Linked DNA regions of Homo sapiens: all the other regions are linked to region 3. Evidence: promoter capture Hi-C in 16 types of primary human blood cells and fetal thymus (Javierre and others, 2016). All regions are on one chromosome and are shown on one strand. The core of a region is centred on a gene start or on the middle of the fragment in contact, and the rest is flanking DNA. Distances in the headings are between cores, read along the strand shown.

Region 1 (5,144 bases), core at 1,253-3,752, 550 kb after region 3:
GAGACAGAGTCTTGCTCTGTTGCCCAGGATGGAGTGCAGTGGCACGATCTTGGCTCACTGCAACCTTCGCCTCCCGGGTTCATGCCATTCTCCTGCCTCAGCCTCCCGAGTAGCTGGGACTACAGGCGCCCGCCACCACGCCCGGCTAACTTTTTGTATTTTTAGTAGAGGCCGGGTTTCACCATGTTAGCCAGGATGGTTTCGATCTCCTGACCTCGTGATCCGCCCGCCTCGGCCTCCCAAAGTGCTGGGATGACAGGCATGAGCCACTGCGCCCGGCCTTTACTTGCTATTTTCTATACATGAAACATCGGTTGTTTTGTTTTCAACTCATAAAGATGCCTTACAGCTTCTTGTGTAGGGGAGACTGGTTCCCACCACTCAAAGGTGCCAGCATACTCACTGCCAAGCTGCTGCTCCCTTTAAGGAGGGAAGGCAGGGAGGACTTGTAACCACCTGTCACTCTCTGGAAACACTGGCGCTGGAGGTCACTGTGATAAATGCTTAGGAAAGAGACAGTGGACTGCACAGAGTCGTTTTCCTGGAGAGAATGGAGAGTTCACAGGTAGCTGGTTTTGTCCACAAGCGAATGTGAAAATAAAGAGAGCGTCGCATTTGTCAGATATCTTGGGACCAACCTGAAGTGGCTTTCTCCTTTCACTGAGTATGTCAGCAGTGAATTTGGGAGTTAGAGATGTTGCCCTAAGTGGACGAAGTTTGAGGCTTTTCTTGAGGCTGTCTGCCACCGTCCTGTTGGCTAAGTCCCTTTTCTTAACCACATATAGGAAGATGTTAGAGGCTACATTCATTCCAAAAGGTCACAGCCTAGTAACTGATACTACCACTGAAGGAAAACTATCTTTTAAACCTGAGAAACATCTTCAGACTCCATCATGAATGAATCCAAATTGAAAAAAACAAAAGCTGTGCTCACTCTACACCAGTTCCTACATCACTAACTGCCGTGTTAAAGTAATTTAACTGGCACCTAACAGAAATCATCTGCCACTTTGTAAAAGTCATAGACTCATAAGAATCTAGAGCTGGAAGACCGTTAAAGAGCTAGTGATCCAGCCTCCCTCTCATTTCACGGACCAGCAAATCGTGGCCCAGAGAGCCGAGCCCAGCTGTTCCGAAGTCCTCATACGGGATTTTGGTCAGCATTTTGCATGACGGTGATCTGAGGAGACCCGTCATACCTTTCATTTGTAGTAACATAAATGAACTGTATTTCCCACCCCCTACGTTTGTTAGCTGAGGAAGATACAGACCAAAGCAAAATAAAGCTGGTAGTTCCTAAAGGACAGAAGCCAATGATACTGAAATTCCTGTCTTCATCCATGTGATTGGTGCTTGGCACAAATGAAATGTATTCCAATTCATTCAAGTTTAGACGCCTGTCCCGATAACTGTTTTTTTGTTTGTTTGTTTGTTTGTTTTTTGAGACAGAGTCCTGCTCTGTGGCCCAGGCTGGAGTGCAGTGGCGTGATCTCGGCTCACTGCAACCTCTGCCTCCCAGGTTCAAGCGATTCTCCTGCCTCAGCCTCCAGAGTAGCTGGGACTACAGACAGGCACCACCACACCTGGCTAATTTTGTATTTTTAGTAGAGACGGGGTTTCACCGTGGTGGTCAGGCTGGTCTCGAACTCCTGACGTCAAGTGATCTGCCCGCCTCGGCCTCCCCAAGTGCTGGGGTTACAGGCGCGCCCGACCCCGATACTTTTAAATAACGACACGTTGTGAACAACACCACAGTCCCTACGCCTCTGGATGGTGTCTCCGGATAGATCCAAAGCCGAGAGGCAGTAAGAGCCTGCAGCCTCCACAGTCCGCCTCCTGGTGCAGGTGGAGAGGGGCTGCTGGAGGCCCCCGGACCTCACGCTTCCTGAGGGCCACCCCGGAGCGGCTGCAGCCGCTGGCGGCACCGGGAAAAGCATCTCGGCCGTGCGGGGAGAGGCCACATCCTGAGGCCTCCCACCGAGAAGCACCAGGGCTTGGTGGACGGGGCCCGCGAACCCAGGGCCACACGCCGCCTCCCTCCTTCCTTCCCCGCGGGCCTCGCCCCACCCCGGAGGGGGTTCCTACCTGGCTTCCTCGGCCCCGCGCCCACCCCGCCCCTTCGCCCGGGGCCGGCGAGAAGAGCAGGTCGGGGAGGGGCGCGTCCGCTGACGGAACAGAAGCCGGGAGCCGCGGCCCTTCCCGCCTCCGCCTGGGCCCCGCGGCCGCTCGGGAGGGAGCGGCGGACTCGGAACGCGCGCGCGCCGCGGCCCCGGCCACAGCCGCCGCCTCGGTCCCCGCCTCCGCCCCCGCCCACCCGCCCGCCGGGGACGCCGGGGAACCCTCCGGGCCCAGGGACCGCGAGAGACCCCGCCCCGCCCTATCGCAGCCGCCGGGCCTGGTCACGCGCAGAGCCGCGCCGCGGGATCGGGGCCAGCGCCGGGCGGAGGCGGGACGGGGACGGGGGCGGAGGGTTGAAATCGCGCGGCCGGGCCGGGGCGCGCCGAGCCGAACCCAGCCACGCGGCGCCAGCGAGGCGGCCGGACCCGCAGCCCCGATGCTGCTGACGCTGGCCGGGGGCGCGCTCTTCTTCCCGGGGCTCTTCGCGCTCTGCACCTGGGCGCTGCGCCGCTCCCAGCCCGGATGGAGCCGCACCGACTGCGTGATGATCAGCACCAGGTACCGGCGCCGCCGAGACGCCCCCCGAGGCCCGGGGCGCTGCCCACCGCACCCCACCCGGCCGCGGGGCCCAGGGCGGAAAAGGGGGGCGGCAGGAAGCCCGGGGGCTGCTCCCTCCGCGTCCCGGCGGCCCGAGTTTCCGAAGCCCCTCCGCGTCCTCCCCTGGCGGGAGCGGGGCCGGGGCGGGCGGGAATGGCCGATGAGCCTCCGGAGCCCGCTCCCCACATCTGCCTGCGGCTGGGGAGAGTCAGGCCGAAGGGCCGGGCCGGGCTCCCTGCGGTCCTCGGACCGGACTGAGCGCGCGCGCTGTTCTCTCCGCCCGCGCTAGGCTGGTTTCCTCGGTGCACGCCGTGCTGGCCACCGGCTCGGGGATCGTCATCATTCGCTCCTGCGACGACGTGATCACCGGCAGGTAAGAGCCCGGGCCGGGGCCTTGTTGCAAATGTCACATTTCAGTAGCTCGCAGGCTCTGGCTCTCGCAGCACACGCGCTCAGAAAGCTGACTAATGGGAAAAGCTGGCACCACAATGGGCTCCTTCTTCCTCTCCGGAGTCTTCGGGCACCCCCAGCTTAGGAGAAAGTCCACGGAAATGAGGGAGGACGACAGAGTCGGAGTCTGATTTCAGGTGGTGTGAGCCAGGGATCCAGGTCCTTCATGGAAGAGATAAGCGTGGAAGCATTTACGACTGGGAGTGTGGCTTGATTCTTGCAGTTGGCTTCACTGGGTTCTCACTCTGGAGCATCACTGGCTAACAGACGTCCAGTGTGGTTAGCAGAGCCCCCTCCATGGAAAGGAACCAACCCACCACCCCCTTCCACGCAAACGCCGCTCTTGCTTTTCCTGCAGATTTGCTAAAGGTGATTGAGAGGTTCCCAGCGCTTAGAACACGGACTTGTACGTCTATCAGAGGTCAGTCCAGAGGCAGGTCAGGAAATGTGCACCTATCTGCAGTTCCAGTGAAACAAATCATAAATTAAGACCAGAATAGTCGACTTTGTACAGTAGTTAGACCTGGACAATGGTGGTGCTTTTATTATTTCAAGCCTTTTTTTTCCCCACCGGTCTTGCTGGAATCACACTCACTTTCTCCCAAGTTGAAGGACCACAGTCGGATGTGCAGGAAGTTGAACGGCCTTTCCAGGCCCTGCTCTCCTGTGGGCTCTGCCAAGTCCTGCTTCTCACCTGCTGAGACTGAACTGCGAGGGGCCTGAGCAAGCTGTCCGTCTCACTCTAGCCTGCGGTCTTACCTGGGATCAATCCTGCTGTCATGATTTTTGTGCTTTTCTTCTGCCTTTTTAAAAACAAAACTGGCTATTGGCGATGAATAAGTAGATGCTACGATAGATCAAGTGACATCGATTGTAGACACCAAAGGTTAATATTGGTGTGGCTGGGTACAATTTTTCTTCTTCTTCTTCTTCTTTTTTTTTTAAAGACAGGGTCTCACTATGTTGCCCAGGCTGGTCTTGAACTCCTGGGCTCAAGTCATTTTTCTGCCTCACCCTCACAAAGTGCTGGGATTACAGGCATGAGCCACCACACCCAGCAAATTTTTTACTTTTTTTTTTTCCTGTCGAGACCTCAGGCTGAGGTGCAGTGGCATAATGACAGCTGACTGTAGTCTTGAACTCCAGGGTTCAAGCCACCCGTCTTCCTTAGCCTCCCAAGCTTGGACTACAGGCACACACTACTACACCTGGCTAACTTTTTTTTGTTGTTGTTGGTAGAGACAGGGGTCTCCCTGCGTTGCCCAGGCTGGTCTTGAACTCCTGGGCTCCAACGATCCTCCTGCCTGGGCCTCCCAAAGTGTTGGGATTATAGGCGTGAGCCACTGCACCCAGCCAAAAAAGGCCTTTCAGGGTTCATATACTATATACTGAATATTTTTCTATTATATGCCTTCTCATTTTATGCCTTCACATAGAATGCGATTAGATAGAAGGAGTTAAAAATCCCCCCAAATTATAGGCAGAAGGTGGTATGGGGCCAAGGATTTAGTCAGATTCTTAAAGGATTCAGACACTAAAATGACAAAGTCACAGCTCCAGGTGGTTTTCTCAATTTAAGTACTTAATTCAGATAGTACGTTGTTGTTTTAGACAGGGTCTGGCTCTGTCACCCACGCTGGTCTGAACTCCTGGGCTCAAGCCATTCTCCCACTCAGGCCTCCCAAAGTGCAGGGATCATAGGTGTGAGCCACCGTGCCCAGCCTGTATAGTACCTTTTAACATTTAAAAGGACTCCCCCTCCCCGCCGCCTTTCTTTTTATTGAGATGGAGTCTCACTCTGTCACTCAGACTGGAGTGCAGTGGTGAGGTCTCGGCTCACTGCAACCTCCACCTCCCAGGTTCAAGTGATTCTCCTGCCTCAGCCTCCTGAGTAGCTGAGGTTACAGGCATGTGTCACCACGTCTGGCTAATTTTTGTATATTTAGTAAAGCCATGTTGGCCAGGCTGGTCTTGAACTC
Region 2 (5,330 bases), core at 1,491-3,990, 800 kb after region 3:
GATAACAGGCATGAGCCACCGCACCCGGCAATAATTCCTTTTAAAATCAGCACGTAGCTTTTGTAATTTCCAAGAGTATGTGTTCCATAAGAAGGACAGCTGGAGTCTTTTTACCTGGTATATATCCCCGAGAAAGATCTTGAGTGGTTTGTTCACGACCAAGGAAAGAAACTACCTCCTTGAAAACTGGACTGGTTTTAGAGAATAAAGTATAGGATGTGAGTCAGAAAAACTCTGGGCCAAAAAATAAAATGTTTAAGATGCTAACGCACCAGGGTTTGGGCACGTCCAGCACTCTCAACGGTATTTTCAAATGAGAGTCTGCCCTGTGTCATCCAGGTTCTCATCATGGAGGAATCAGCAGGTCCAGGCTAGGGCCGCAGAATACTTTTTGTCATGCAAAGAGCCTGTCCAGGGTATAGAGAGCCAGCCATGGCCCATGTCCTATCAAATATTCTCCTTTTTCGGAAAAAGCTCTAAGCATTTGCAAAACATCTGTTTGCTCCATATTTTTACTATCCAAAAAATGTATTTCCTCTTCAGTAAAAAACACAACAATAGGCTGTTAAGCCTGTAACATTTTACCATAATTCTATGTTTTCAAAAGCTAGAAATCATTTGTATTGCCGGATAAGGACATTATTTTAAGTAGACTTTAGTCTACAACAGAAACTTGCCGTAACAATGAAAATGTTTTTTGGCAAATCCCTTTCTGAACATTATTTCTCCACGAACGTATCACAAAAACCACCACCAAGGAAAACAAAGGATTCTCGTATTTTGAATCAAAAAGTACTGGCCATGCATATTCATACTATATCAAGCATGTCAATCAAAATGGGCAAAATAACCTAAAAAGCAGTAAAAATGCCAACTCTTGCCTCTGAGTGGTTAGTGAACCTATGTTTTCCCAATATGAAATTTACAAACTGCATCGGATCAACTGTATTTCATACTTTAAATCTCGAATCTCTACCTCCCACTGCTTCGGGATGGATGATTTACTCAAGACATTTGGGGTCACAGTGTAAGCCTTTTGCTCCCAGTAAATCTAAATCATGCTTCTCAACAAGATTCTGCACATATAAAAGGAACACGTGGCACGCCTCGCCATGCTCCCCAGAGGAAACTAAACGCCCCCAGAATAGCCCTTCTGTCCACTCCAGAAACAGGCTTTCCTCAAAAAGGGAAAGGGGCTGGATTCACACGTTGCATCATATACACTCACGAAGCAACAGCGCTCCAAAACTTTTTCTGACTCCATTCATTACAAAATGTCCTGGATGTGCTTTATTATCACAGAGACAGACATCCTCACCCAAGGGACACACTCAGAAACCCAAACTCAACTCGGCAGCAAACTGGGAGACACGAGAAGTTGACAGCAAAGTATCCATTTCCCCAAATCCTCCTTCTTCCAGTCAATGTGCATCGATGGGGTCAGCTCAGCCCTTAACTCGAAGACCCCGGGACCACAGGGGCCACCACGCAGCTGAGCTCTGCACAGCCCGGGCTGTTCCCGCGCCCGGGAGGCGTCTGGGGAGGAGGCTGGACGGCCAGACAATGCAAAGCTCCCCGGTGGCCGCGAACTCAGCCTGGGGCGGGGGAGGCGGGGGCGGGAGACGGAGCCGTGAGCGCCCTTCTCGGCCACAGCCACGGCCACGGTCACCGGCCGCCTCTCCTGACCTCGGCCTCGGCCCCCAGGTCCCCGGTCCCCGGGGAAGGGGCTCCGGGAAGGCAGGTTTCTCCCGGAAAGAAAGGAAACGCGCTGGTTTGGGCGCCACGGGCGGGGGGCGTGCGCCCTCCCCTCCCCTCCCCTCCCCACTGTGGGAATCCGCGGGGGTCGGCGGCGGAGGCAGGAAGGGCCTGGCGCCTCTGCTCGCGGGTGAAGGGGTCGCGGAACCGGGATCCCCGAGCGCAGCCGCCCCCACCCGAGGCTCCCAGCGTGTGCGGACGGAGGGGCTCGAGCCGGGATCCCGGGGGCCGAGGGGGGTCCAACTTTCCAGGGCGGGCGCAGCGCAGCACTCGAACCAAAGAGGGGTCCTGGGATGAGGGTGCGGGCACAGCGCGGAAGGGGGGGGGGCAGAGGCGGGGACGGCGGGGTGGGGGGCGGGGAGAGGACAGTGGGTCGGGGGGCGGGGGACTGGGGGCAGGGGTCGGGGGGTGGAGGGCGGGCAGGGGGACAACGGGGTTGGCGGAGGGCAGGGGTAACGGGCGTGGGGGGCGGGCAGGGGTAACGGGCGTGGGGGGCGGGCAGGGGCCGGCGAGGCCCGCGCCGCTCACCTTCCTGTGCTTCTCCTTGTAGGGCAGCGCCAGCCACGGCATGTCCCGCACGAAGTCCTGCCACTGCCGCTGGTCCTGGTCCGAGGACACGAAGACGATCTCCAGGCGCCGCCGCGGCTCGGGCTCCGCCGCCGCCCCGGCCCCCGCTCCCGGCCCCGGCCCGGCCGCCGCGTCCCCCCGCAGGCGCCCGTAGAAGGCGGCCAGGCTGGCGCTGAGCTGCGCGCAGGGGGCGCTGAGGCTGCAGCCGAAGTAGAGACCCAGCAGCGAGATGCCGCGGGCGCCCAGCGAGTGCACGTCCACCTCCTCGCCGCCGCCCGTCACCAGCTTCTCGCCGAGCAGCTCCTCCAGGAAGCCCGACATCCTGGCCCACCGCAGGGCGGGCAGGCGGCTGCGACCCCGCTCCACGGTCCGCGCGGCGGGAGGAGGCGGCGGCGTCGGCGGCAGGCGCTGGGGAGAGCAGAGCCCGGCCCAGTAGGGCCGCCCACGCCACGCCCCCTCCGCCTGCCCGCGCCACGCCCCTTCCCCCGCCCTGCCACGCCCCCTCCGCGGCCCGCGCCACGCCCCTTCGGCTGCCCTCGCCACGCCCCTCCGCCCGCCCTCGCCACGCCCCCTCCGCCCTCGCCACGCCCCGTTTGCGGCCGGCGGTGGCCAGAGCTCTCCGCCCAGGCGGGGTCCGCAGCTGCCGGCCGCGGTGCGCGGGGTGACTGCTTGGGCGAGAAGCCGGACCCGAAACGCCGCACTCTCCCTGGAAAGCCCACGGCCGAAGTGAAGAAAGGAGAAGGGCCCGCTGAGCCGGCGCTTTCCCGGGCTGCAGCCCGGCCCGCATTTTCTCTCCTCCCCAGTTCTAAATTCCCTCCAGACCTCCAGGGATCCCGCCCCCTCCCCGCGGAGCTCTTCACCCTCTTCCTGTTCCTCCCCGGCCTTTCCCTCCTCCTCTCCCTGCACGAAGCCTGACCCTTAGGCCGCTCCGGGCCCCACTGACCCTGAGATGCTTATAGGACCCGCCGTCCTCACTGCATCAGGCCGGGCCTGGCTGGACACTGACTCCTCTGTGTGTTCCAAGCTGTTCTAAGGGGGCCGAGGACGCCCTCGCAGCTTCTGGTGGGGTCTGGTTAGGGTGCCAGGTCTCAGTGTGGGATTTCCGTCCAGGGGTCGCCGGGGCCTCTCCCCCCAGCGAATCTGTCTTCCAGCCCCACAAATGGATGCAAAGGACGCCGCGGGGCCTCCAGACCAATGCTGGCCGCGCTCCTGAATCCGCTCCATCCTCATGTCAAGTCTATGGATAGTTGAGAACATTTCTAGAGATTTTTTTTTTCCTACCAGCTGGCAGGATGCTCCCCAATGCTTAGGGAGAAGCTGGATTAAACAGGTGGTCTGGGCCGGGCGCGGTGGCTCACGCCTGAATTCCCAGCACTTTGGGAGGCCGAGGTGGGTGGATCACAAGGTCAGGAGTTCGAGACCAGCCTGGCCAATATGGTGACACCCCCCCCCCGCCTCTACTAAAAATACAAAAATTAGCGGGGTGTAGTGGCAGGCACCTGTAATCCGAGCAACTCAGGAGGCTGAGGTAGGAGAATGGCGTGAAGCCGGGAGACGGAGGCTGCAGTGAGCCGAGATCGCTCCATTGCACTCCAGCCTGGGCAACAGAGCAAGACTCCGTCTCAAAAAAAACAAAAAAACAGGTGGTCCGTGGCGAGTACTCTGGCCACGCAGCGCCTCCCCCCAACCCAACCCACTGGTGCACGAAGCAGGTGCAGATCCGGGCCCAGCCACAGTAACAGGCCGCCGGTGTGGATCAGCTACTGACGACTCAGCGAAAGCAAAAAAATAAAAGCTGAAAACCCGCCCCTCTCAGAGCTTCCACCGCCGCTTCGGAGGATATTTCCTGTGCATCCATCGCCACCTAATGGAAAGAGTGAAAAATGAGGCCGACCAAACTCCATTTGTGAAAAGACACTGCCGGGACACCAGGCACAATGCTTTTATTTTACAGCAGCTTTCCACATACACAAATGATAGGACGCTTTGCGGGAGCTAATTTAAACCTCAGAATAGAACTTCAAGCTTTTGGCACAAAACGTAAGTGTTCACATCGAAGGTTCTCCGTTTTTCTAGGGTAGAATAAGGAATGGTGCAGGGTTCCAGCTTGGTGAAATGTTACCATATAAAACAATTGGGAGAGGTGGAGATGGGAGCGGAAAGTGGACTGGCGTCTCTACAAGTTATATCCACTTCCTTAGTCACCTGCTGGTATTGCTAATGACACAGGTAAGATCTTAGATGGAGGACCGCCTTCGAACACCCTAGAATCCTACTGCAAAGTCGAATTCCACCTTAATTCTCAGGAGACTTTCATGCTGAAAGTCTGTGCCACTGTAGGGACAATATTATAAAACACACACAGAAAGCATCACTTTTTAGTGAAAACTTTATTTATTTATTTATTTATTTATTTATTTATTTTGAGACAGTGTGGGCGGCAGGCCACCCAGGCGCTGAGGCAAGAGACCGAGGACACAAGCCGTTCCAGTGTAATAAAATATAAAATAAGAATAGTTATACCAGATATAGATCTTAGATAGGCTTATATATGAATATCATTAATCATTAGTTTGTAGCAATTACTCTTTATTCCCATATTATAATGATCCTCGCTCTATAATCATAATCTAGGGAAAACCAGGCCATACAGAGATAGGAGCTGAGGGGACATAGTGAGGAGTGACCAGAAGACAAGAGTGCGAGCCTTCTGTTATGCCCAGACAGGGCTACCAGAGGGCTCCTTGGTCTAGCGGTAACACCAGCGTCTGGGAAGACACCCGTGGCCAGGCGGACTGTGGTGTAGCGGTAGCGTAAGTGTCAAGGAAAAACACCCGCTACTTAGCAGACCGGGAAAGGGAGTCTCCCTTTCCCCGGGGGGAGTTTAGAGAAGACTCTACTCCTCCACCTCTTGTGGAGGGCCTGACTGCAGGTTCGCCCACAATTATCCGGAGGCCTAACTGTCTCCCTGTGATGCTGTGCTTCAGTGGTCACGCTCCTAGTCCGCC
Region 3 (5,227 bases), core at 2,594-5,093:
GGGCACCACAGCCCATGGGGGCTGGAATATGCCCCCTAACACGGAGAACCTTTGTGGTGGACTCAACCCCTTGTCCTTGCTCCAGACCTGCACAGGCATCGGTCCTGACCCGGTCCTGGGTGAACCACACAGGGCAGGTTTAACACGGGCATGTGATCCAATTCTGGCCAATGAGACAAAAGGACAGGTCTCCTGGGGACTTCTGGGAGAGGTTTCCTCGCTCTTAAACTGAGACATGAGAAAAGGAATCGGTCCTTACCAATTCCTTACCCAGTCAAGGACCTTATTGTTACATGTGATGCCTGGACCTGCAGCAGCCACCTTGGACCTGAGGGTCCTGCTTGGCTGATGGAGACTGACAGCGTCATTCTGACTTTGGTCTGCACCTGAACCTTCCTCACCCAGACACCCTTAGGAATAGGAAACGGGCCTTGATTTTGCTCTACAAGGAAAAACGCACAGCCACGAGCAAAGATGGACAGAACCATCACCCCAACAGTGCTGAGGGGCTGCTGCATTGGTGCACCCTGGTGCAGCAAGACCTCAGCTGTCCTCATTGTTTAAGCCACTCTGAGTTGGTTATCTGTCACTTGCAACCCATGGCACTCTAGTGATTACAGCTTTGAAGAATGGACTGGGCTTCCACAGGTGGGTGCCGGGCAGGAGAGCCTCTCAGGTAGGGGCAGCGTGTGGGGTGTGTGGCCCACGGCCCACCTGGAGGGCAGCACGCCACAGAGGCCACCCTAGGAGAACTGGCAGGGCCGACACTGGGTCCTGCTCCTCATTGGGACATTCACTGCCTTTCCTCCCTGTCATCGCCCCTCTTCGAGATCTGCTGGGAACATGCGAGTTATGTGCTTGTGCTTTGACATGACTTAATAAAGAAAGGGCTTTAAAAAGCCAGGAGAAAAGGCTGAGTAAATAAACAGCACTTCACTCTCTGCCTTGGACAACAGAGCAACCGCCCTCATTTCTTTTTGTCAGAACAGAGATAATCCAATAATTAGGGCAGCAAATAGCATAACCCTGGCTAAAGCCGTAATGAACCATCTGGCTTGAATCATTGAGGCTTATTCTAAGGATCTGGTTGTCACAGCCCAGAGGGGGGCACCGCCTGGGGTACTGGGTGGAAGGCAGTCCCACCCCAGAACCTGTTCCCCCACCATGGACAAGAGCCAAGATTTCTGGGCTTCTGGGCCTAGGATGTTTGTCAGCCTCCCATAGGATCCAAGCCTAGGGTGGGGCCCCCCTCGAAGGGGGCGACAGGGGCCCAAGCTGGCCCTAGCTCAGTGGCACACCGTCCTCCTTAGCTCCTCTGAGCCCGTCTTCAGCATTTCTTTGGCATGTCCTGATAATACGGGTGTGGCCAGCCCACAGTTCAAGCTGGCAAAGCTGCATCCAGCTCTGCCCTGCACTGCTGACCTCATGTGAGTCTGGCCCCTGCACCGCATGTATCTCAGGCCAGGGGCCCAGCCCTGCTGCCAGGACATGCTCCCTGAAGGGCTGCTGAGCTGATGGATTGGAGATGGGGCTGGCTGGCCTGAGTTTCTAGCTTCCTGGTCCCCTCCTTGCTTTGTGGGTTCAGAGACAGCAAAAAAAAGAAAAAGAAAAAGCCTCTTGGCCATTCGCCATGCAGAGGGCCCTCTGTGGCACCAGGAGGGTGGCCTGAAGCTCTGCCCTCCCCTCTTACTTCCTTGGTGCAGCAGCAGAGATGCCAGAAATGGGAACAACTTTCCCATCCGTTCTTCTGGGGGAGGCTTTGGATTCAGGGCAGCCAAAGCAGTTACTTGGGTCCCACTCAGGGCCCACCCAGGGGATCACCAAGTCCAGGGTGAGCTTCGCACAGGGTGCCAGGGGCAGAGGGGAGGGGGGGTGGATCTAGGGCACAGCCCTGAGGGCAAAAAACTCTTCCGACCCAATCTCCCCAAGCTGGCAGGAAAGTGGAGGGACAAGACTGCTCCCCAGCCCCCACGCCCCAGGGCAGGGCCTTCATGTGCCAGGCGCTGGCCCGAGGGCCGTGGTCCAGGCCTCTAGAAAGTGCAAAGCAGGCAGTTTCCCCTACAGGGGCCCTGCTCTAACCGGCCACTGCTGATGGGCCTCCCCAGGTGGGGCGATGGGGGGTCTGTGCCCCGGGGGCACTGGTAATCCCTACCTTCAGCTTCTGGTGGCACATTTGATGCTTGGGAAACTCCAGGCCCGCAGCCCACAGGCCCTGGTGAGTGCCCAGGCCAGGCGCAGACATCCCTGCTGCGCAGGGGAGGGGCAGCACCAGCCCTGGAGAAGGGCCACATCCCGGGAAGGGCTGGGGTTTGACGAGACGCTGGTTTTCCAGGTCTCAGTGACAAGTCTGGAGCCACAGCTGAGCTAGGAGGGGGTTCTCACATGCCATCCCCACCCCGCGCAAACCGACTCCTCACTGGACTGCGACCTCTTCCGGCCTCGGTTTCCCAGCCAGTCCCGGCTCGGGCCGGACAGGCACCCTCGGGGACGGGAAAAGGCGCCAGGAGCGCCCACCGGCCGGGCCTCGGTCCCGGGACTCCGGCGCTTGCCTGCTCCCGGGGGCTCAGGGCTCAGTCCGGGAGGAGGGGGAGCGGGCTGGGGGGCCCTCTCTGCCCGGGGGCCGCGGGCGTAACAGGTGGGCGAAGGTGCGCGGCCCTGGCGAGGGCTGCGGCGGGGTCCATGGACACCGGAGGAGGAAACGCCAAGGTTTTTCCAAAGGACAAGCGGCCCCGCGGTCCTCCTGGTCCTCTGCTCGCGCGCCAGCAAAGCAGCTGCGCTCTGCGGGCCGCCGGGACCACGCGGGAGGCCGGGCCGCTCCCAGCCTCGGGCCCCTCCCCAGCTCGCCCCAGCCCCGACCCTCGGCCGCGAGGCCCTCCCGGAGCGGCTGGCGAGCGGGGAGCGACCGCGCGGCCGGCAGCAACTGGTGTCTCCCCGGGACGCAGCTCCGCCCTTCCCGGGAACAAAAGCAGCCGCCCGCGCCGGAGCTCCGGGAGGGCGGGCTGGCAGGGAGGGGGCGCGGCGCCGGCTCCGAGGAACCCGGCCCCGGAAATGGGACACCCCCAGGGGGTGCCCCCGAACTTCCCTCCTGTCCGGCCTGGGTCGGGGGAGGGCTCGAGGCCGGTGGGCAGGGCGCGGAGAGCGCACCGAGTGCGCCAGGGGCCCGCAAGCCCGCGGCGGGGTTGTGAACCGAGGCAGAGCGCGAGCGCGCGAGGGGGACCGGCGGAGGGAAGCCGCGAGGCCGTGGGGGGGCCGAGCCCGAGCCAGGGGAGGGGGCGCGAAGTCGGCGCGTGGGAAACTTACTGCAGTCGTCCGACTCGTAGCCGTCGGCGTCCGGCTCGTCCTCCGGCGGCTTGGCTGGCGGCCGCGCGGGGCTGGGACCCGGGCTGGGGCCCGGGCTGGAGCCGTAGGCTCCGAAGAGCTGGTCCACATCCTCGTCGTCCTCGCGGGCGCCGTCGGAGGGGCTGCGGCGGCCGGCACCGGCCACAGCCGGGCGCGCGGGGGCGTCCGGGGGTGCAGCGGCTCGGGGCCCGGCGTCCGGGGGCAGGCCCCGCGGGAAGCGGGGGAAGTAGTCGGAGATCTGCTTGATGGGACGGATGGGGCCGGGGCACACGTCGATGGCCATATGCTCCTGGATGCTGATGGTCGCCTTCTCCCCGCGCCGCCGGAGGGTCATGCAGGCAGCGCCGCCCCGCCCCGGGCGCGGCCCGGCCCGGCGCGACCCCGGCCCGGGGGCGGCTCAGCAGGCCCGGCGGGGCGCGGCGGGGGCTGCGGGCATCGCCGGCCGCGCCCCCGGACGGCCCTGACTTGGCCGCTGCCCGCTCCGCTGCGGACGGCGCGAGCGAGTGCCAGAGGCCGGCAGGCAGGGGGCGGGCCCAGCCCGCGTCACCCGGCAGCAACCAAGCAGGGTGAGTGTGCGGGCTGCGCGGGCGGCGCGGAGCGGAGGGAGCCGCGCGGCGCCACACTCACTCGCACTCGCACTCACACCGGCGTGCACGCCGGCCCGGGACCCCGCGCGCGCACACTCGCGGCCAGGCAGGGCCGCCGGGCGCCTTCCGCTCATGCACGCCCGCGGCACAAGCTGGGAGTCAACCCGGCAGGGACCCGCAGGACGCGCACCCACACGTTCCCGCGCGTGCCAGCCCACGCTGGGCTCCGCTCGCTCTCTCGGGACACACGCAGGTGTGCAAGTGCACACATGCGTGTGCAGAGACACGTGGTGGAAGCATCCGCTCGCTCACACCGTAGGTCACACACGCAAACGTCTGCATGCGCACATGGTTGTTTTAGGAAGCTGTGACACAGTACACCCCCAATGCACAGGCGCGCACACCTGATGGAGCACACACACAGGTGATCAAGGGCACCCAGGGCACAGGCTTCCCTACCCCCAAGCACCCCTAACAAGATGCACAAACATGAGCCCATAGAAGTGATCAGGGGACCCTGGGCACAACTCCTTCTCTCCTCCCCCTCTAGCAGGACGTGGAGTCACACTCCTAGCATGTAGGGACAGGTTGCCTACACACGGGCAGGACATGTACACGCTCAACTGCACAAGGACACCGGGGCTCAGTCTGTGCACACATATTCTCAGGTCACATACAACACAGCACTCTAACCTCGGGTCAGTCCCTCACTTGGTCAGTGAGTACAGTCTGAAGGACCCCCCGGGGCAGGGTGGCTGAGAACCTGCACAGGGCCTGGTCAGGAGGGAGTGAGGGCAGGGCCTGGGCGGTGAGTGATGCAATAAGGCTGGGCGGCACGCTCCCCCCACCCCCACTCCTACTCTAGGCCTCCCACACGGTCAGATCACTAAACAAATCCCAGAGGGCCCAGCCCTGGCTGTCCGGCTTTCCGGGACCAGAGCTCTGTTGGGAACTGCTGCTGCTTGGACAGGTGTGTTCCCGGAAAGCCCTGGGCATGGATGGAATCCTGTTTACCCTCTGGTTTCCACTGATGTGTAAGACACTTAGCTTCTTAGTGGGTGCCTTTGGTGCATCTGAATGAGGGGCTCCAAGCCTCTCTTGTTCCCCCACCATAACCCCTGCAGAGTGATGGGGAGCAGAGGAAAGAGAGGCAAAGCCTTGGCCTGTGGCTTCCAGCTGCACAGTTCTGGCAGGCTATTTGACCTCTTTGAGCCTCGGTTTCCTCATCTATGAAGTGAGGCTATTTCCAACTGCACAGCCTTGTGGCAAGGCCCCATCCAGCACAGACAGGTAAGAGGTGC
Region 4 (5,574 bases), core at 3,075-5,574, 530 kb after region 3:
ACCTGAAACTCTACTTACTTGCTCGGTTGGGAACAGGGTATTGATATACTCAACAGCATTGAAATCTGCTCGATCTAGAGGGTCCTGGCTTGGAAACACCTATATAGAAAGAGAGGAGTATATATAAAAACATGTAGTATACCGTAAATATATATAATTTTAATTTGTCAATTAAAAGGAAAGGGCCGGGCACGGTGGCTCATGCCTGTAATCACAGCACTTTGGGAGGCCAAAGCAGATGGATCACCTGAGGTCAGGTCTCTACTAAAAATAAAAACTTGGCTGGGTGTGGTGTTGGCGCACACCTGTAATCCCAACTACTCAGGAGGCTGAGGCAGGAGAATTGCTTGAACCCGGGAGGCGGAGGTTACAGTGAGCCGAGATCACACCACTACACTCCAGTCTGGGCGAAAGAGCAAGACTCTGTCTCAAAATTAAATTAATTAATTAATTAATTAAAATAAGGCTGCGCGGATCGCTTGAGCTCAGGAGTTGGAGACTGGCCTGGGCAACATGGTGAAACCACATCTCTACAAAAAAAAATTAGCTGGGTGCCATGGCACATGCCTGTCATAGTCCCAGCTACGTGGGAGGCTGAGATGGGAGGATCACCAGAGCCCAGGAGGTTGAGGTTGCAGTGAGCCGAGATTCTATCACTGAACTCCAGCCTGGGCGACAGAGTGAGATCCTCTCTCAAAAACAGTCCACCTCTAAGACATACAGCTAACTCCCTAACAACCTGAAGAACACGCAACAAGGTGGATGATACAAGCAGCCAAATTATCCACTGGACACTGGGTCTCACCCAGCTTGATAGAGTTACAACTGTGGGAAGCAACTTCATCTCTGAAGAAGCCTTCCAAAGAAATATAGAGTCAAAAAATCAAAATATCTTCAAGACAACTGTTAGAAAAGCTGAAGCCTTCTACCACATCAAGAGGAGGTGGATGAGAAGAAAGTGAAGATGTTTTCTTTTTAAAATGTTCAGCATTGCTGTTTCCATAATGCACATATACACAGGTTATTTACACAGTCTCAATGATACGTGCTCACCAGAGGGAAAGTATAACCCACAGAGAGCAGGATACAAGAGATACAAACTATTTCCTCAAGTTGCTCTCAGTTTCTGTATTCCTCTCACGACTCCTAGGTTTTAGTGCTGTCCTAGGTTTTAAATTGTTTTCATGTAACAAGGCTCCTAACAAAAGCCAGCTGAAAAAAGAATGACTGGTTCCAATGATGGAGGAAAAAAACTAACAGCCCTAGACTTATCAGAGATGCATACGTGGTACTTCATGGGCAATTTTTTTTTTTTTTTTTGACACGGAGTCTCGCGCTGTCACCCAGGCTGGAGTGCAGTAGCGCGATCTTGGTTCACTACAAGCTCCACCTCCCAGGTTCATGCCATTCTCCTGTCTCAGCCTCTTGAGAAGGTGGGACTACAGGCGCTCGCCACCATACCCGGCTTATTTTTTGTGTTTTTAGTAGAGAAGGGGTTTCACCGTGTTGGCCAGGATGGTCTCAATCTCCTGAACTTGTGATCCACCCGCCTCGGCCTCCCAAAGTGCTGGGATTACAGGCGTGAGCCTCCACACCCGGCCTTCATGGGCAATTTAAAGAACTTCAGGGCAGAGTGATTTTCATGTCTAGAGTGACTTTCGCCTTTTTTTTTTTTTTTTTTTTCGAGATGGAGTCTCACTCTGTCGCTCAGGCTGGAAGGCAGTGGCACCATCTCAGCTCACTGCAACCTCTGCCTCCCGGGTTCAAGCAGTTCTTTGCCTCAACCTCCCGAGTAGCTGAGATTACGGGCACCTGCCACCATGCCCAGCTAAATTTTTGTATTTTTAGGAGAGACGGGGTTTCACCATGTTGGCCAGGCTGGTCTTGAACTCCTGACATCGTGATCCACCCGCCCTGGCCTCCCAAAGTGCTGGGATTACAGGTGTGAGCCACCGAGCCCAGCCAATTTTCACCTTATGCAATGACTCTGGGACTTCATCTTGGAGTAAAATGTGATTCCATTTTATCAACCCTTCCTGACTCCTCACACATCACTACTCTTTACAAGTATGCTACTACAGAATTTCATTCAGAGTGCTAAAGTAAGAAAAAATTCTGAATTCATCTTGACATAATGATGTCTGAATTCTGCTTGACATAAAGATGTCTGCTATACTATCACTCAAACTTATTCTTACAAAATAGGAAAAATGTCAGAATTCACCGCTATGTAATTCATCCATGTAATCAAAAACCACCTGTACCCCAAAAGCTGTTGAAACAAACAAAAGAAATAGCAAAAATGTGCTTTTCTGATACCTGTCAACCAAACAGTAACTGACTGCATTATTCTTTTCTTCCATGAGAGCCCACTAGTCCAAAGAGCAACAGAAATGTTATGTCTTTTTCTGGCAAAAGGAGGTAAGTGGTGGAGCCGTGTGGCCGGAACACTAAAAGCTTCCTGCCCAATGGTTTGGCGTTCTCAGGCTAGGACAAAGTTGGTTGTATAAGTAATCCAACCACTACTGGAAAAACACACATCGAAGCGTCAATGAATGCACCTGTAGTCCCAGCTACTCGGGAGGCTGAGGCAGGGTTATCACTTGAGCCCCAGGAGTTCGAGGCTGCAGTGAGCTACGATTATGCCACTGTACTCCAGCCTGGACAACAGAGCAAGACCCTATCTCAAAAAAAAAAAGTTTCCCAGGGGTCATTAAATAAGGCATAATGGAATTGTCCATTTCCTCAATCATAAATCCCTTTCTTAAATCATATAACTTCATGACAATTCCTTTAAGGGAGATTTTCTCCGTTTATCAGGAGCAATACCCTGCAGTATTAGAAATCACTATTTCTGACCGGGTGCAGTGGCTCACACCTGTAATCCCAGCACTTTGGGAGGCCGAGGCGGGCGGATAGCCTGAGGTCAGGAGTTCAAGACCAGCCTGGCCAACATGGTGAAACCCGGTCTCTACTAAAAATACAAAAATTAGCTAGGCATGGTAGCGGTTGCCTGTAGTCCCAGCTACTCAGGAGGCTGAGGCAGGAGAATCACTTGAACCTGGAAGCGGAGGTTGCAGTGAGCCGAGATGGCACCCCTACACTCCAACCTGGGCGAAAGAGCGAGACTCCGTCTCAGAAAACAAAAAAAAAGAAAAAAAGAAAAGAAAAAAATCACTATTTCTAATATCATTAGCCTTAAAAACTCAATAAACTTGCAAAGGCAAGAGTTCCTGCAGGCAGGGCCGCGCGTGGTGGCTCACGCCTGTAATCCCAGCACTTTGGGAGGCCAAGGCGGGCGGGTTACTTGAGCTCAGGAGTTCGAGACCATCCTGGCCAAAACGGTGAAACCCCCGTCTTTACCCCAAAAAAAAAAAAAAATTAGCCGGGTGTGGTGGCGTGCGCCTGTAATCACAGCTACTCAGGAGGCTGAGACAGGAGAATCGCTTGAACTCGGGAGGCGGAGGTCGCAGTGAGCCGAGATCGTGCCGTTGCACTCCAGCCCGGGCGACAGAGCGAGAATCCGTCTCAAAAAAAAAAAAAAAAAAAAGTTCCTGAAGGGAAAAGAGGCCCCTTGGGAGTATTCTCCAACCTCACCCAAACTATTCAACGGTAGGAATTCTCAACCTTTTAAGAATGGTAACGATGTCATTTTTCAACACTTTCTCTCTTCTCTGCCGTCCGCTTCAGAAATTAAAGTCATTCCCTTCCCCCAGTTCCAAGCCACTCACGAGGTGCCAGCTTGCAAAACCGGGGCGTTGGCACGAGTCTGGTAAATGCATGAAGCCCCCACAGTCCCCAGAATCTGAGGATGGCACCCAAGGCCTGCATTCTCCTAGCGTCGTCCTCTCTAAGCGCACAATTCCTTTCCCCAAAACCACCAGAACCCCCAGCCCTCGCCAAAGACAATCAAAGCCTAGAAAGGGTTCTCTTTCCTTTCCTTCTGATTCAGAAACCGCTTCTCACCCGCACCACCTCCCCACCTCCACTTTCCCTTCTGCCGCGAGCCCCCGGCCCTCCGTCCACCCGCCGCGGCCTCCCCAGCGCCCGGAGCTGCCGTCTCCCCTCCCGCACTCCCGTTTCCCCTCCTGAGGGGCGGAACGCTTACCTGCTCGATGGCCAGCTGCACCTCGGGCGTGAGCTGCAGCACGGCTTCCAGCTCCTCCACGAACTCCAGTTCCTCCTCCTCCATCATTCCGCCACCCGGCCCCCTGCCGACCCCCGCCGCGAGCCCAACTCAGGCCTCCAGCCGCCACCCAGGCCCCAGCACAGCAACTCCCTCGCGGCAGCGACCTGGTGAGCCCGGCTCCGTCAGCCGCTCTGTCAGCCGCTCCGGCACTTCCGGCAGGCCAGGGCACTTCCGGGACCGGGGAACTGTGGGATCACGGCGGACTGAGACTGGCGGCGTTCCTGTCACGTCAGGTGTCTCCCGGGCAACGCAGTATCCCGGCGGCCCCGCGTGGCCTCAGCGCGTCCTTAGGATGGGCGGGGCCTCTTCCCTCCCCAAGGCGCGCCCCGCACTGAGGACCCCGAGGTTGGGGTAGGGTCTGGCCTCCAGCAGGACGCCCGGATGAAAGTCAGCCCTGCGGCGTCGCCAACCGCAGCCCACAGCCTCCGCGGGCAGCGCAGCGGCGACCTCTCAGCTCCCGGGGCCCCCTCGGTCAGTGGCAGCGGGTGTCCCCGGCCACGGGGGCGACGTGATCCCAGCTGGCGAGTGGCGATGTCGCCAAGGACATTCGTAGGACGGGACAGTGCCCACTCGATAGAAATTCCCCGTGCGCCGGGCTCTGCGCAGAAGCTTTTCGAGGTGACTGCAGCCTCCTTATGGGGAGAAACGTCTTTTTTTTTTTTTTTTTTTTTTTTGAGACGGAGTCTTACTTGTTGCCCAGGCTGGAGTGCAACGGCGCGATCTCGGCTCACTGCAACCCCGCCTGCTGGGTTCAAGCGATTCTCCTGTCTCAGCCTCCCGAGTAGCTGGGATTACAGGCGCCCGCCACCACGCCCAGCTAATTTTTGTATTTTTAGTGGAGACGAGGTTTCACCATGTTGGCCAGGCTGGTCTCGAACTCTTGACCTCGTGATCCGCCCGCCTCGGCCTCCCAAAGTGCTGGGATGACAGGCGTGAGCTACTGCGCCCGGCCAGAAACGTTTTTTTAAAGCCAGATGACGCAGCGCCCTGGAGCTGGGGAGACGTTTACTGAGGTTGAATATCCGGGATCTAAGTCCTGAATAGTCCACCATTGATAAGTTGTGTGACTTGGAACAAATTACTACCCCGCGTCGATGTGGAGAGGATTAAACATTAACAGCGCGATGTAAATTCAAGCTGGTAATACAGGAAATAGTGAGGTGCCCAGCCCTTACCCCCACAAAGGAACAAATAAGCCAGATCACCGATCACCCTGTGAAACCACCTTTCCTGCAGACACTGAAAAGAAGGAGGGAATTGCAGCCCAAGGAGGACCCGCTCCACCAGGTGAACCGGGAAACTCCAGGAGGGAAACGCGTTGGCCCCACTGAACTTTTTTTTGTTGTTGTTATCAGAGTTGCTCAAAGTAAAAAATAGGAGCAGTA
Region 5 (5,166 bases), core at 670-3,169, 510 kb after region 3:
AATGGCTACATTGCAGCCAGGCTCCATTGAAGAGACAGAAACTCGGTGGCTGATCCTCTCCTGTGAGTCTGAGAGCTTACTGACGACCGGTCAACGTTGGCCACTCTTGAAACTTCCCACTGCCGGCTTTTTCTTCCTCTAACCCGCCCCTCTATTCACCTCTCTTTCACCTACGTTCAAGCCATCCATTTTAATTCTTGGGAAGCTGCAAAAATTTCATAGCATACCACATCATGTACTTGTTGAATTGACTCATCCACAAAGTTTTAAACGTGGGCATTTAATTAAAGCTTTTGACTGATGATTTCAACAGATAAAAATGGGGAGGATTCCGTGCCATATAAACTTTATAAGAGCATCATCGTCTGGTTAGAAGAGGTCACAGACTAGACCAGTTCAAGCTGGCCCACATAGAAGGTGGTCAAAAAACAAAGACTCTGCAAACGTTTAGCAGAATGTTAACCAAGCGGCTGGTATTTCAGAAACTTCAAGAAGCTCAAGAAATGACCTAATTATGCCTTCAATATTTAAATCATTCCTTACCCCCAAATAATTTTTGAGTCAAAAACATTGCTTTTCAAAAGCAACTTTTCTGCTAAAAATGTCATTTAAGACACCATGAATGTGAAGTCAACACTTTCCCCTTATTTACAGATATAGAAGCACACCTAGCCGGGTGCGGTGGCTCACGCCTGTCATCCCAGCACTTTGGGAGGCCGAGGCGGGCGGACCACAAGGTCAGGAGTTTGAGACCAGCCTGACCAACATGGTGAAACCCTGTCTCTACTAAAAATACAAAAATGAGCTGGGCATGGTGGTGCGCACCTGTAATCCCAGCACTTTGGGAGGCCGAGGCGGGCGGACCATGAAGTCAGGAGTTTGAGACCAGCCTGACCAACATGGTGAAATCCCGTCTCTACTAAAAATACAAAAATTAGCCAGGCGTGGTGGTGCATGCCTGTAATCCCAGCTACTCAGGAGGCTGAGGCAGGAGAGTCGCTTGAACCCAGGAGGCAGAAGTTGCAGTAAGCCGAGATCACACCACTGCACTGCAGCCTGGCTGACAGCGAGACTCTGACTCAAAAACAAAACAAAAAACAAAGAAGCAAGAAGCACATCTAGGCTGGGTATAGCCTAGCAGCCATCTCGGCTATTACATACAGCTCCAAATCACAAGAGGAGTGATGCTGGCATACTGTCATAATTGTGCTATTTTATTTTCAGTTATTGTGGTGAATCTCTTACTGTGCCTAATTTGCATGCTAAAATTTATCACAGGTATGTATACATAGGAAAAAATATGGCATATATAGGGTTTGCTACTCTCTGGGTTTCAGGCATCCACTGGGGGTCTTGGAATGTATCCCCCACAGGTAAGTGGGGACGACTTGTAATAATAAGTGTCTCATGCCTATAATCTCAGCATTTTGGGAGCCCAAGGCAGGAGGATCACTTCAGGCCAGGAGTTCAAGACCAGCCCGGGCAACACAGCAAGAACCCATCTCTACCAAAAATAAAAAATTAAAAATTAAAAATAGCTGTGTGTGGTGGCACATGCCTGTAGTCCTAGCTACTTCGGAGGCTAAGGTGGGAGGATCACTTGGCCCCAGGAGTTCAAGGTTACCGTGAAAAATGATTGCACTCCAGCCTGAGCAACAAGGCAGGACCCTGTCCCTAACATGATAATAATAAATACAAATTTAAAAGCGGCACATCGGTTCTGGTTAAACACAATCAAGATTAAATTTATAAAACGAAAACCTCCTTTTGTCCATATGCCACTCCCTTCTGAGTGTTCTTCAGAAGCTTAGGAAGCGAGTGCTGAAAGCAAACTTCTCTTCTCTTCCAGGGAAGAGGGGAACGTGGGGCCTCTTGACCTACAAAACTCAGTATTTTGGAACATCCGTAATTCCACCAAGTCTGTTGCAGTCAAATAGACTCCTTTTAGCAAACCAGCCAGCCAGGGCTGGAGAGCAAGGCTTTCATACCTAGGAGTTGACAAGGACAGGACCCAAGAGCTCCTTGGAAAAAAAAAAGCTTGTACTTCAGTTTGCATTACAAAGTGCTGGAAAAGACAGATGGGGCCATGACAGGAAAAGCAGTTATTTCTTCTGGGCTTCCTTTCTGTCTGGATTCTAAGGAGACGAATACAAAGTTCCATCACAGATTGAAATGCTATCTAAACATTCTTGAAAATGTGGTCTTGCTCTGTGAAATACGACCTGCTCTGCTGCGGCAACCTGTAACCTATTAATACGGGATGGGGGAGAACGCCGACATTCCTGCAGACTGTCGAATTCTGGGTCTGACTCTGTAATACCGCTAGTTTGCAAGAGTCCAGAACCACAGGTTGAAACGTAAATAACTGAAAGATACACATCTATTATGCACAGCATGACCCAACAAAAAATGCCGATGAATCACTCACTATTTTCACATTCTTGAAATTTTAAACATCTATGACTCCTGCACTGTAAGACTTCTAGTGAGCCATTCCAAATGTAGGCTGAATCACACTGAACAAGCAGTGTTACTATTCCCAGTAGCAGCAAGTTGGGACTCTTAATGCACAAAGCAAGTTCTAAATCACTTTTAAGGAACACCCACTTGCTGATCAAAATGATGTTTTTATGATAAAATGTTTTTGTTTATTTATAATTAATAAACAATCTTAGACAGACAAAATATTCAATACAGTTGCATAAAATGTTGTGGGGGTTTTGCTGTTGCTTTTGGGGATGGGGTCTCGCTCTGTCATCCGGGCTGGAGCGCGGCGGCACCATTACAGCTCACTGAAGCTTGTACTACCACACCCAGCTAATTATTTTACCTTTTCGTAGAGACGTGTATTGCTATGTTGCCGAGGCTGGTCTCAAACTCCTGGCCTCAAGTCATCCTCCCACCTAGGCATCCCAAAGTGTTGAGATTACAGGCATGAGCCATTGTGCCTGGCTCAGTTGAATAAAATGTTATTGCATGTGGCCTATGTGTAGTGAAATAGAAAGATGACAAAGATACAGTTCTTACCTTCCAGGAGCTTACAAACATCAAAGGGATGAGACTTGTTCTCTGGTAAGTCAAGGGAGACCCCAAAAGCCAAATGAAAAGTACAAGAATGGGGCTGTGGGATTTATGGAGAAAGGACATCGAGGGACACTGGAATCCATTTTCTCCTCTGTAAAATGAGGGGAGGGGCCCAGATGAGTTTCAAATCCTTTCCAGTTCAAAATTCTGATTCCTTGGTGTATTCAGATAAGGTCCATGGAAAACATCGTCAAGAAACTAGTATCTGAGCTGGTCCTTGGATGGGTAAGATTGGGAAATGCGGCGGCTTAAAGAAATAGGAGGAAAAGCATTTCAAGCACAAAAGAGTCTGTAAGCACAGGTCCAGAAAGCACAGGCATGCTCGTAGAGCACAAAGTCTTCAGTGTAGACAGAACACAAGAGGAGGCAAAACTGGAATTGGAGACCAGAATTTTGAATGCCAAGCAAAGGAATTTGGATTTCTTTTTTTTTTTAAACAGGGTCTCACTCTGTTTCCCAGGCTGGAGTGCAGTGGCGCGATGATGGCTTACTGCAGCCTCGAACTTCCTGGCTCAGCTGATCTTCCTGTCTCGGCCTCCTCAGTAGCTGGGACTACAGGCACAGGCCACCACCATGCCCAGCTAATTTTGTACTTTTTGAAGATGCAGGGTTTTGTCATGTTGCCCAGGCTGGCCTTGAACTCCTAGGCTCAAGTGATCTCCCCGCCTCGGCCTCCCAAAGTGTTGGGATTGCAGGTGTGGGCCACCATGCCTGGCCTTGGATTTCATTTAGTGGCCAGAGCTGATACGGTGTCTGAAGAGGTAGACAATACGATCAAACACAGATTAGGACAGCTAAGCAGCAGAATGCAGCTGGAGTGCTTGAGGCTGCCCTGTCCCTCTGTAGGACCCCTCTGAAGGTCCCATTTACATGGGCCTCATCTGCCAAAGAAGCCATGCTTCATGAAATATACCTCAACAGACAAAACGAGGTAACGAGGGCTAAAAAAAATACAGGAGTCCAGAAAACCAGAACAGTTTTAGGAACCTAATGTGTCTACACACAAATTCTGATGATGACAAGAAGGCCAGCTACTCACAAACAGGCCAAAGGAAACTGGCTATCAAATGGAAAGTGACTATAAAGTGGAAAAATGGAAAAAGAAAGTGATATAAAGTAGTAAAAATAGACAGATGGGAAAACTACAGATGTAAAAGAAAGAGACTCCTAATATCTGTAAGCAACTGGCAGAAGGAAACAGAAATATCAGAGATCTGGAAATTTCAGCGTAGGATTATATGCTCCTCCCACTCCAAATCTGGGCAGCAGGATGAACATTTTTAGAAATTAGCTGTCCTAAAAAATGTCAAAGAGGAGAAATCACAGCATTGAAGCAATTGCAAAGAAGCAGTCCTGACCTGAGTTAGTGCTGATAAGGGAGGACAGGACATGGCAAGAGAGGACGGCTAGAAAGGCAAGCTCAGCATTTCTACTACAACAGCCATTCTGAAATACGATGCCTCAACAGAAGAACAGAATCAAATAAAAAGGGAAATGGTTCACAGATAACATCTGGCCCCTCAATTATTAAAGAGTATCTCCTCCCTACACACTTTTCCCTTCATTGCCTCCAACAGCCTCCTTAACTAGATCCAGTAAGACTTACTTCATTCCCTCCAATGGCCTCCTTAACTAGATCCAATAAGACTTATAAAACTTTTTTTTTTTTTTTTTTTTGAGACAGTCTCACCCCTGTCGTCCATGCTGGAGTGCAGCGGTGCAATCTCGCCTCACTGCAACCTCTGGCTCCTGGGTTCAAGTGACTCTCATGCCTCAGCCTCCTGAGTAGCTGGGATTACAGGCGTGAGCCGCTGTGCCCGCTGTGCCCGGCCAACTTGTAAAATTTTTTAATGAATCTTGAGTCACCTGCCTGCTGGCAAAGCGAGGTACGAGGAAATGGTAACTATGTCAGGTTACTATCTTTTACAGCCACAAAATATCAAAACCCCAACAACTCAGCTGACGAATGCAGCAACCTCATTTAGCCACAGCCCACAAAATAAAAGAGGGCACAAGAGATGCCCGACACGAAGGAGAAAGACAAGGAAGCCCCAGTGTTCTCATCTGGCCTCGGGTGAGCGG

The links. The method cuts DNA at HindIII sites, captures the fragments that hold promoters and counts their contacts. A CHiCAGO score of 5 or more calls a contact.
Region 1: a contact is called between the fragment with the promoter of TLCD3A here and the fragment with the promoter of DOC2B in region 3, in 2 of 17 cell types (neutrophils and M0 macrophages). The highest score is 6.2, in neutrophils.
Region 2: the fragment with the promoter of NXN here is called in contact with the fragment with the promoter of DOC2B in region 3 in 6 of 17 cell types (M1 macrophages, M0 macrophages, M2 macrophages and 3 more); the score reaches 10.9 in M1 macrophages.
Region 4: a contact is called between the fragment with the promoter of VPS53 here and the fragment with the promoter of DOC2B in region 3, in 13 of 17 cell types (naive CD4 T cells, endothelial precursors, total CD4 T cells and 10 more). The highest score is 11.9, in naive CD4 T cells.
Region 5: a contact is called between a fragment that was not itself captured here and the fragment with the promoter of DOC2B in region 3, in 8 of 17 cell types (naive CD8 T cells, naive CD4 T cells, total CD8 T cells and 5 more). The highest score is 9.6, in naive CD8 T cells.

Annotation. Positions count from the first base shown.
Region 1 is chr17:730,094-735,237 of GRCh38, forward strand. TLCD3A (TLC domain containing 3A) reads left to right here and starts at 2,503. Exons shown (of 5, transcript NM_024792.3): 1 at 2,503-2,676; 2 at 3,005-3,088. The coding sequence starts at 2,555. LOC124903893 (a long non-coding RNA gene) reads right to left here and starts at 2,287. Exons shown (of 2, transcript XR_007065572.1): 1 at 2,086-2,287. RefSeq lists an enhancer at 1-10 and silencers at 1,980-2,459, 2,480-2,749, 2,820-2,919. The HindIII fragment of the contact is 13,049 bases long and covers 1-4,343 here.
Region 2 is chr17:977,036-982,365 of GRCh38, forward strand. NXN (nucleoredoxin) reads right to left here and starts at 2,741. Exons shown (of 8, transcript NM_022463.5): 1 at 2,284-2,741. The coding sequence starts at 2,643. RefSeq lists enhancers at 1,654-2,589, 4,014-4,308. The HindIII fragment of the contact is 5,276 bases long and covers 1-4,345 here.
Region 3 is chr17:177,807-183,033 of GRCh38, forward strand. DOC2B (double C2 domain beta) reads right to left here and starts at 3,844. Exons shown (of 9, transcript NM_003585.5): 1 at 3,301-3,844. The coding sequence starts at 3,673. RefSeq lists enhancers at 2,200-2,766, 4,228-4,729. The HindIII fragment of the contact is 7,942 bases long and covers 1-5,227 here.
Region 4 is chr17:710,515-716,088 of GRCh38, forward strand. It overlaps VPS53 (VPS53 subunit of GARP complex), which reads right to left and starts at 4,325. Exons shown (of 22, transcript NM_001128159.3): 1 at 4,109-4,325; 2 at 19-99. The coding sequence starts at 4,195. RefSeq lists an enhancer at 4,797-4,866. The HindIII fragment of the contact is 2,341 bases long and covers 2,456-4,796 here.
Region 5 is chr17:692,051-697,216 of GRCh38, forward strand. The region is part of intron 4 of VPS53 (VPS53 subunit of GARP complex); the gene reads right to left. Among named protein-coding and RNA genes, the nearest start is that of VPS53, 20 kb to the right of the region's middle. The HindIII fragment of the contact is 231 bases long and covers 1,805-2,035 here.